Regions from separate parts of the Homo sapiens genome. Here all the other regions are linked to region 1. The links are contacts of gene promoters, found by promoter capture Hi-C in blood cells and fetal thymus (Javierre and others, 2016). All regions are on one chromosome and are shown on one strand. The core of a region is centred on a gene start or on the middle of the fragment in contact, and the rest is flanking DNA. Distances in the headings are between cores, read along the strand shown.

Evidence for each region. Contacts are between HindIII fragments. The CHiCAGO score rates a contact against its expected background, and 5 or more counts as called.
Region 2: a contact is called between a fragment that was not itself captured here and the fragment with the promoter of ASPH in region 1, in 3 of 17 cell types (total B cells, activated CD4 T cells and non-activated CD4 T cells). The highest score is 8.5, in total B cells.
Region 3: a contact is called between a fragment that was not itself captured here and the fragment with the promoter of ASPH in region 1, in 1 of 17 cell types (activated CD4 T cells). The highest score is 5.2, in activated CD4 T cells.

What each region holds. Positions count from the first base shown.
Region 1 is chr8:61,713,065-61,716,596 of GRCh38, forward strand. ASPH (aspartate beta-hydroxylase) reads right to left here and starts at 1,528. Exons shown (of 25, transcript NM_004318.4): 1 at 1,205-1,528. The coding sequence starts at 1,307. It overlaps MIR4470 (microRNA 4470), which reads left to right and starts at 1,724; the gene lies at 1,724-1,795. RefSeq lists silencers at 898-1,327, 1,368-1,737. The HindIII fragment of the contact is 6,840 bases long and covers 1-3,532 here.
Region 2 is chr8:58,403,344-58,406,875 of GRCh38, forward strand. No RefSeq gene overlaps it. Among named protein-coding and RNA genes, the nearest start is that of UBXN2B, 6.3 kb to the right of the region's middle. The HindIII fragment of the contact is 3,704 bases long and covers 1-3,532 here.
Region 3 is chr8:58,649,215-58,652,746 of GRCh38, forward strand. The region is part of intron 1 of NSMAF (neutral sphingomyelinase activation associated factor); the gene reads right to left. Among named protein-coding and RNA genes, the nearest start is that of NSMAF, 8.9 kb to the right of the region's middle. RefSeq lists an enhancer at 1,992-2,716. The HindIII fragment of the contact is 931 bases long and covers 1,265-2,195 here.

The sequences.
Region 1 (3,532 bases), core at 278-2,777:
CAAACTTTCACTTATGTCAAAGGTGAATTAATATGCTTGCATTGAACTTCAAACTGTGTCTACATCTTTACTTTTAGAATACAAATATTAGTCCTTAGAATGTAAATTTGTGCAATGGATTTAATGCACTACTTTCCCCATTTAAATCCATTCATTCATTCACTACTCAAATATTTATTGAGCACCTATTATGGGAAAGGAACATTCTAGGAGCTGGGGATACAGAGAGAATGAGCCAAAGACAACACACATGAAAGTAATAAGACAAGTTCAGATAGTGACAAGTGCTATAAAGAAAATACTTCTTTGACTATAGCTGATTCATTTTCTTGGTATATTATGAATGCATGATCTGAAGATCTCAGAAAACAAAGAGTCTAAATCACTTCAAGTGAAGTTTACAGCTCACATTCCATACACATGTGTATTGCAGTTTCAATATCCCAAATATGAGTCAAAGGAAGTATAAAAGAAACCAAGAATCACTGAAATATGAGACGAAACAGATTTAAAAATCTGTTCTCTCTGCTGGATATGCACACGGACGAGGAGAAAGGTGAATATCCAATCGATTTTTATTTTAAGTAAAAGTGGTAAAAATACAGACGCTCGTTCAGTATTTCATGACATTCTATTTTAAAGGCAACTGCAACGCATATTAAGAAAGCTACATACAAGCAAAAATATTTAAAATAATTTCTGAGAGCATTCAAATCACTCCCAACTTCTTCCCTCCCCCTGCCCCCCGGCGCCCCCATTTTCACCTCCTTTGAGTTGCTCTGAAACGCTGCTGGTTAGGCAGGAACTCACTTTCCCTGACTTTGGCTCATTTTCAACTCCCCAAAACACGCAAGGCAAACGATAAATTGTTCTCTTACTCCCATGTTCAATTCCACGGAAAGCCAAGAAACAGTCGTTCAGCAACCTCTGTCTCGGCTGCGCCCTGCAGGTGAAGGAACCGCTGGGAAGGGGCTCCCCGAGACTAGCATCCCGAGGGCTCGGACCCCGGTCCGCCTGGCCCCTCGCCCGCCCGCCAGGCCCGCCGAATGCGGCCTCCGCCCCGCGCGCCTAAAGGAGGAGCGTCGCGGGGGATGGAGGCGGCGCGCGGTGGGACCTGGGGAGATGCACCCGCAGCGTCCGCCGCGCCAGCCGGCTCCCTACCCCGAGGCGAGGCCCCAGATCCCCGCCCCGCAGGGCCTCTGACCTCTCCGGGCCCCGGGGCTGCTGCTGCCCGCACTCGTGCTACCGCTGCCGGAGCCGCTGCTGCTGCTGTTGCCGCTGCTCTTGGCATTCTTACGCTGGGCCATTGCACGGTCCGCGGGGGCTGGTGAGGGCTGGCGGACCTCCTTCAGTGCGCGGGGGTACACACGCGACGCGGGAACCGCTGGCGGCGGCGGGCCGCTGGAGCGGGTTCGGGCCGCTGCTCCTGCAGCAGACCCTGTGCCTCAGCACCGCCTGCAGCACCTGGGAAGACTTCACCCGCCTGCCGGCTGCGCGCGCCCGGCCTCGCGTGTACGAACCTGTGACTCCCTCCCGGGGCGAGAGCGCGCGGCTCGCCGCCCGACGGCCACGCCCCTTCCCGGCCTCGCCCCGCCCCCGGAAGGCTGAGTGACGGCGCCTGGGACCCAATCGCAAGGGCCCTTACGAGGCGGCGGTACCCTGCCGCGCTCCCCGCCCCTGCTCACTTAGGGCTGTTCGGGCGCTACGCAGCTGCCTGTGAGCGCGAGCCTCTTTCGGCTTTCCAGTTTGTCTCGGTCCTTTGGAACGTGGCAAACGTGGAAGCCGAGAGGGCTCTCGCGAGCGTTGGCAGACCCCGCTCCATAGGGATGGGACAGGGCGCGGTGCGGAATAGGTGGACACGTGGGCCGCCCGTGGGCGGAGTGCGCCGCTTCTAGGCCTTTCACTGTGGATTTTGTCCCCTTTCCGTATACAAGGAAAGGAAGGAGTGCAGTCTCGCTTCTTGCGAAAGAGATCCCTATTTCTTGTCCTGATTAATACTAAGACATTTCTGGAATGGTGATATTAGGACTAGTTCAATGCTTAAACCGTAGTAGTTCATCCATTTGGTGCTGAAGCAGGAATTTAGTTCGTTTGTGCCATCAGTATTTTCAGATACTCTTAGTTAAGGAATGAAAATGCAAATGTGACACAAAAAGTTCATTTTCTTACCCTGGATGGCACCCTCTGTCTGAAATCCCTGGCTGCTTTGCTAACGCCTGGGCCTGTGCTGCCTGAGAATTCCCAACAGAGTATTAAAATGTCTTGGCACGTGGTTGAACCAGACAAGGACTTGAGATCAGCGACGTCTTTATCATCTTTGTGTCACCATTGCTAACACCATGCCCAATGTGTAACAGGCAAGCAAGAAATGCTTAGTGATTTGATACATTTCTGTCAATTGCTGAACCCACAGCTCTTGATCATGTTTCGTAGCAACCCCTGGGAGTGTCTCAGGAGGGCTCAGGGACCAGAGAGAGCAGTTGCATTGTGGCATCTGGTTTCATTCCTCTTTTCCAGCCCCACAAACCCACCCACCCGCGCCTTCAGAAGCACTCCCGCCTCCCCCCGGCCCCATGCCTTTTCACCTGTGGATGGTTGGATGCTGCTTGACCCTGCCCTGATGATGCACAGAAACCCCCCAAAGGTCATGTTGCAGAATAAAGAGAATGCCTTTCTTTACCTTTTGTCAAATAGTGTTAGGCTATTATCAAGAGACGGTGGGAGGGGAGAGTTCACAGAGTTTTTATTGAAGTAGCTCTCTCAGCTTTTATCTTGTGGCATCTCCTTCTGCATCCATATATCCTTTCTCCCATTCAGGGCCCCCTTACAACCCTCTATTATATTATCTCAATGAAGGAGGTGGAGAACTGGATTAAGAAATAAATCTGAGTGATGGTGCTTCATATAAAATAAAAATGAGAGCTAAATTTCAAAACACAATGCTCTAGCCACCCCCCACCCCCCACACCAAAGATATTTTTACCCTTAAATTCTCACAAAACCCTGTAGTCATATCAATTTTTTAAAGAAATTAGATACTGGAAGCTCAGAGAGATAAAACAAAGTAGGGTCACTGTATTAGTCCGTTTTCACACTGCAGATAAAGACATATCCCAGACTGGAAAGAAAAAGGGGTTTAATTGGAGTTACAGTTCCACATGGCTGGGGAGGCCTCAGAATCATGGCAGGAGGTGAAAGGCACTTCTTACATGGAGGTGGCAAGAGAAAATGAGGAAGAAGTAAAAGCAGAAACCCCCAATAAACCCATTAGGTTTCATGAGAATTAATTCACTATCACGAGAATAGCACAGGAAAGACCGGCCCCCATGATTCAATTACCTCCCTCTGGGTTCTTCCCAAAACACATGGGAATTCTGAGAGATACAATTTGATGTTGAGATTTGAATGGGATCACAGCCAAACTATATCATTCTGCCCCAGTCCCTCCAAATTTCATGCCCTCACATTTCAGAACCAATCATGTTTTCCCAACAGTCCCCCAAAGCCTTAACTCATTTCAGCATTAACCCAA
Region 2 (3,532 bases), core at 470-2,969, 3.3 Mb before region 1:
GCAGAGGCCCCAGCTGGGAGGCAGGGTGACAACCAAGGCAGAAGTCTGAAGATCGTGAACTGTGCCAGTGGAAGCAAGAGTGAAGAGGAGAATACAGATCGAAGAGATATTTTGGAGGAAAAATTGAAGATTTGGTAAACAACAAACTGTAAGGTTAAAGGCAAAAGAGGAATTTAAAATGACCCTGATTTCTAGCTGAAGCTAGATGCTGATCTAATAAATGATAGAATGAAAAAGAAGTGGGTTTGTACGACAAAAACAGAGGATTAGTTGGAGACACAAATGTTTTTGAGACATCCAAATGAAAATATCAGTTGAAAAGACAATTGGAAATGTAGATGTGGGGTAAGAGAGGGACCTGGGTATTGGAAAAAGAGATTTGGGAGTCTTAGATACAGTCCATTCTAGTTATTCGCAGATTCCATATTTGCATATTCACCTACTCACAAAATGTATTTGTGACCCCCAAACCAAATACATGCAGTGCTTTGTGATCAAACCCAGACACAAAGGAGCAAAATATTTCTGTTGCCCCATGAGCACATTCCCAGCTGAGCTCAAACAAGGTGACATTCTGCCTTTTTATTTCAGCTTTTATACTTTAAATAAGTGTCCTTGCACATTCTATTTAGTGCCATGTTTTTCACATGTTTGTGCTTTTTGTTGGTGATTTTGCTGTTTGAGATGGCCCCCAAGGGTAGTGCTGAAGTACTGTCTGGTGTTCCTAAGTACAAGAGGCTGTGATGTCCTTATGGAGAAAATGCATGTGCTAGATAAACTTCCTTCATGCAGGAGTTATAGTGCTGGTGGCTGTGAGTTCAATGTGAGTGGATCAATGATCATATTAAACATGGGGTCTTCAACAGAAATAGACATAAAACAAGGTTATGCATTGATCAGTTGATGAAAATGTAAGAAGTTCACAGGAACCTACCCTGTATTTTCCCTAGCAGCAATGATTCAGTATTCAATAACTCAGTGTTCTCAATGGCTTTAAGGAACATAACTACTGTAAATAATGAGAATTGACTGTGTGTAAATAGTAGGTATGAGAACAGAAGATATTGAACAGCGAAAGCATATACACAGTGAGCAAATAAGAGTGGCAAAGGCAGAGCCCTAAAGAACATCATTATTTAGAGGGTGGATAGAAGATAAAATGTTAGGAGAAGCTCAAAAGGAATGGTCAGGTAGGTAAGAAGACCAATGTTAAGCAGTATCATGAGGAAATTTCAGGAAAGGTAAAATCACAAGAGTCAGAGGCTGCAAAAAGCTCCCAGGAGACACGGAGATGGTATTTTTTAACCAAAAACACAAACAAAAAAAAAAACATATGCTTTTGAGTGTAATGGACCTGAATTTAAAATTTAGTTCTGCTACTTAATAGCTGAGTGACATAAGGAAATTCATCTTATTTCTCTGATCCTCAACTACTTCTGTAAGATGGAGACAATACCTATCCCAGAAAGTTGTTGTAGATTACATGAAATAATGTGCAATCCATGAAAATTACCAACTGTAAATATTCTATTTCTATTTTTAGAATGAGATAAAAATGTTTTAAAGGATGGAACAAGGCCATTATATATTACAGTGACCTCTGATCTTGTTCTCAGTGATGTCCAGCATATGTAAAATTACACAAACGTGAGTTTCATTTAGGTTGTGAAGTTGGAGCTGGATTTGGTTTAGAAGTGCAATATAAATAGGCCTGCATTTTATACTGTCTGTCCTGTCTGTATCTAATGAAGATATCTGTTGATAGATCTTCTTATTTCTTGACTTTCCATGAATGGAAAATGGGCTTTGGAGATAGTCAAATGTGGTTTGAGTTATGGATCTGATATGGTTTGGATCTGTGCCCCCACCCAAATCTCAGGTTGAAATGTAATCTCCTGTGCTAGAGGTGGGCCCTGGTGGGAGGTGATTGGATAACAGGGGCTGCTTCTAATGGTTTAGCACTATCCCCCCAGTGCTGTTCTTGTGATAGAGTTCTCACAAGATCTGTTTGTTTAAAAGTGTGTGGCACCTCCCCACACTTCCTCCTGCTCCAGACATGTAAGATGTACCTGCTTCTCTTCCCCTTTGCCTTCTGCCATGATTATAACTTTCCTGAGGCCTCTAGAAGCCAAGCAGAAGCTGTTCTGCTACCTCTATAGCCTGCAGAACAATGAGCCATTTAGCCCCTTTTCTTTATAAATTATCCAGTCTCGGATATTTCTTTATAGCAGCACAAGAACAGACCAATACAGGATCCCTACCACCTTCATTCACTCACTCATGCAAATAGTTATTAAAAGTACATATTATGGTTCCAGGTTCTGTGTTAAGGCACTAGAGATGAAGTCCTGGCCCACATACTCCATGAGCTTAGTCTAATGGAAGGAGAAAATAAGTATAATAAAATGTTTAACATTAAGTTTCCAGTTTAAGGACCCCATAATATATATGATAGGTCAAAATGGGTGTGAGAAAGATGCTCCTGGAGAATGTTTCAAAGACGATGAATGTCATGATTCTTGAACCTCCTCACCCACTTTGAGAACAGAAAATAGAGAATCAAGGAGAGTGAGGTATGTGGTCGTAGTTCTTTGAAGAAGAATGGGGAAAGATATCACTTTCATCACAAGCCAAAAGAAAGGAGACTTCAAGGCGACCACTTGAATGTTTGTTGATATTTTTGTTCACATTAACAAGATACACATAAGATGCAAGTGAAACACAAACACCCATAGTAACTCAACAACGTGAGCAACTTCTTCCGGAATCAGCTAGTAATTTTCAAATACTAGAGGAAAATTTACATTTTTTTTCTTTTGCTATTCACAGCATAACAGCTGCAGGCACAGCATACTTTTAAGTCTTATCTGCCTCGTAAACATTTTCTCCAACAGATCCTTAAATCTCCAGTGGGCAATCAACAAAACAAGAAATCGAACTTTTATTTATGGCGTTTACCAATTTCTGAGGTGGGAATACTTACACCATGGTAGATTTCAAGCTACTAACATGTTGTCACTGAATGCGAATTGGGAAGAGGTGTGCAATAGCATCTCCACCATATAGATCCAATAGATGTAAATCCCCTCAGGAGCATAGATAATAGCAAAATGTATTCAAATAACTAGGAAATTAGAGATTTGAATATTTATTGCATGAGTTTTTTGTATAATTTAGTTGTACATTTATATCATTTAATTTTTAATAATCCCTGTTTAACAACTGCCTTGCAAAATTCCTAAAAATTTAACAGTAGGCTCTCATAAGCCAGTGCACGGCAACTTCTGCACACCATTGACATTAAGTTCATTGAATATGTAGCCTTCACTATCCTATCTGTCACTCTGAAACTAGTAAAATATGGATTTTCCTCACTAACTATGAAATTGGTAGTAACTTTTGGGACAGCATCTCCTGTTCCTTTAGTCCAGTGGATACTTTTTAGTCTTAATCTTTCTTGATTATCTGTAGTAAATGACATCATTGGTATGCCTGTTGAAACTGCCTCATCACCAGTTTTTCCAGTCTCTTG
Region 3 (3,532 bases), core at 480-2,979, 3.1 Mb before region 1:
ACTGGGTTTCAGACTTCAGTGAGGCCTACTGCCCCTTTCTTTTGGCAGATTTCTCTCTTTTGAATGGGAATGTTTACCCAATGCCTGTACCACCATTGTATCTTGAAAGTAGATCAACTGTTTTGATTTTACAGGCTCATAGGTGGAAAGAGATAGGTGTAAGATGAGACTTAGGACTTTGGACTTGATGTTGAAATAAGTTAACACTTTGGGGGACTATTGGGAAGAAATGATTGTATTTTCCAATGTAAGAAGAACATGAGATTTAGGGGGCCAGGGGCAGAATGATATAGTTCGGATGTTTGTCCCCTCCGAATCTCATGTTAATATGGAATTACCAATGTTGAAAGTAGGGTCCAGTGGGAGGTGACCTGATCATGGGGGCAGATCCCTCATGAATGCCTCAGCACCATCCCCTTGGTAATAAGTGAGTTCATGCTCAGTTAGTTCACATGAGATCCGGTTGTGGTTGTTTAAAAGAGTCCAGAGCCTCCTCCTCCTCTCTCTTGCTCCCTCTCTTGCCATGTGATGTACCTGCTCCCACTTCACCTTCCACCATGAGTAAAAGCTCCCTGAGGCTTCACCAGAAGCCAAGCACATGCCAGTGCCATCCTTCTTTCCTGTACAGCCTGCAGAACTGTGAGCCCATTAAACCTCTCTTGAATTAGCAGCATGACGTTCATGCTGGGGACTGGTGACAACAACTTCCTCTTCTAGTGGTTTATAAATAATCTGTCTGATCTAGAATTTGCATTAAACCTATTTATGCACACATGTTCTTTCAGCACCTTTCAAAGTTCCTAGATCATTGAAATAATTCTGTGGTTCTACACTCAAACTCTCCCAGGATTTTACGCCAGGAGACATAAGCACTTGGGTACCATTTGCATCTTCACCCATCTTGCGAAAGTTCATCCTCTTTCAGTCTGAAGATTAGTATTATTAATAGAGTACAAAATAAGAGCTTTCCCTGTCATAAATCAATGTTACACCTGGTACCAGGCTAGGCCTAGGCAGCAGCCCAGTACTTCCTAGTTCCAAGGGCAACTTTGGAAGTTTTTTTGTTTTTATTTTTTTAATCTGTACCATTTTTCAAAGGTTCCACTCATTTGGGGCTTTAACCTTTTTGAAATTAACTATGTATAACCTTCTTGTTTTATATTAAAACTAATAATTATAAACTCAGAGAAATACTACCTGTACAACCATTCTTTATTTGCTAGCCTGATTTTCTTTTTCTTTTTTAGCTTCCTTCCAACATGCAAGCTTGCCTGATTTTCTGTAACTCCTCACAAAAGATCATTTGGATTAGATGTTCTTAATTGTATTTTTGACAGTTTCACAAACTTCCTGGGTCAATATGCTTTCCAAACTGTCCAGTAACAGCACCTATCTTTTTTGTTCCTTGGAACTTTCAATATCTGCTTTCTTAAAATTCTAGGTTCTATGTATGACAGGATCCCTCTCAACTCTCCTGAGCTCCAGCAATAAACAACTTGATATGACTGCTTTTTATGATGGTTCATTTCATTGCTACTTGGTTAATAATTTGTCTTTAATATTCAGAATTAAGTAAAGTTCTCAAGTTTAGGATAAATTAAAACTTTAAGAAAGGAAGTCAATAAACTGTACTTAGATTTCACTAAGCATTTCAGCCAGTATCTCTATTGCCACTTCCTGTTTTCCCATTTACACCAGGTACACAGCCACCATTTCTTCCACCCACTTAACGTGGCCTGTAACAAAAGAACACAATCATGTTATCTTTGTTCCTCTTTCCAATTGTGTTCTCTGGGATTTTTTCCTGGGGTTTCATGGATTCCCCTTCAGATGTATACCTTCTTAACATTCAGAGCCCACTGCCTCACCTCCTGGCAGGTCTTTCCTTTTCAATAGGTCTGCAGCTTTTCAACACTAGATTCCAATCTTGGGTCTCATCTTACCCAACTCCAGTGACACCTAAAACACACATTAATCCTTTTTTGTTAAAAGACCTGGCTCATTTTATTATCCATGTTCTACACATTTGCAGAGAGACATCTGAGGGACTAAGTATCATTTCTAGTTCCTGTACCAGTTGTTTTCTCCTATAAATTACTGGCCCTTCTTCCCTCCCAGAAAGAGTTCTCATGAATTTAAACAATTTCACTATTTCATCTGGCCTTTTTAGCCCTTCCCCTCAGTAATTAGGTTAAAGCTTTCTATCACTCAGCTGGACTCTAGAAAATTACATTCTCCCTGACTATGTGAGATGCAGTGACTTCCAGCCAAGATGGTTCAGATATCAAAATCCCTTTCACTGACACCATCCATAAAGCCAGTCAATTCTATTTTCAAGTCCCAGCAATTTATGAGAAGAAATGGTAAAAATGTCATCTATGCTCTCAAAGTCCTCCAGTTTCCTCATCAAGTGTCATACTGCAGGGCAGGAGGCTTCCCTCAGCCTTTTTATATGTACTATCAAGAAGTTAAAGAAGGAAGTTCAGTTGGAAGGAACAAACAAATAAAAAATCAAGATGAATGCTGAATTACTGTTATCTAGCGCAGCGCTTCACAAAGGTTAGTGTGCACACAATCAACTGGGGATCTTGTTAAAATGCACATTCCAAGGCAGCAGCTTCAGGGTGAGGCCTGAGAATGTGCATTTCTAACAAGCTCCAGGCACACATGCGCTGCTGGCCTGTGGACAACACTTTGACTAACAAGATTCTGATATCTACATAAAACAGGCTTCATTCATTCCTGAATCAGTCTAAACTTCAAGGATACCATAAAAATAAGCACTGGCCAGTAGCCCACAACCTAGTATTTAAAATAGAAGCAGTATGGTACAGTGGAAAAGAGGTTGGACTTGGATCAGAGAACATTTGTTCTAGCCTTAGTTCAGCTTGGCTCCAAATTTTCCAAAACTTTTAGCTTTAGGAAGCTCAAGCAGGATAGATGAAGAAAAAAAAATCTATATCTAGACAGCAAAAAACTACAGAGAGGAGATCTTAAAAGCAGTCAGAGAAAAGAGAGATTACCTACAAAGAACAATTAGACTTAACAATATTGGTTTGTTGCAGGCTGGTCTCCCAGAAGAGAAGGTGGCCTCCTGCAAAGTTTCAGGGAAAACTGCTATGATTGTGTTTAAGGCAATCAAACCTCATCAACCACAAGGCTTGAACCCTGGTCCCCTGACCATGCCAGGAAAAAGGCTGGTGTTTCCCCAATCAAGAACAAACTCTGCCACATTATACAGACTTAGCCCCAATCAAGCCAGCAAGGAGGTAAGGATATCCTGCAGCCACACATGCTGAGCTGGGATGAGTGAGCCAAGGTTCCATCACAGTATGGTCCTACTGTACTCTGGCCCCTGGTCACTCCCTGGAGTGCTGGTTTCTCCTGAAGTCTGAAGTTGGCCCAGCCAGGTAGCTGAACGTTACCCCAGGGGGACAAGGCACAACTATCACTGACCTTTCTCTGTGAGGTACCCCCCCAACACCCCAGAGCACTCCAGCAAGTCTGATGCATATTCCCTGGCCCTTTGCCT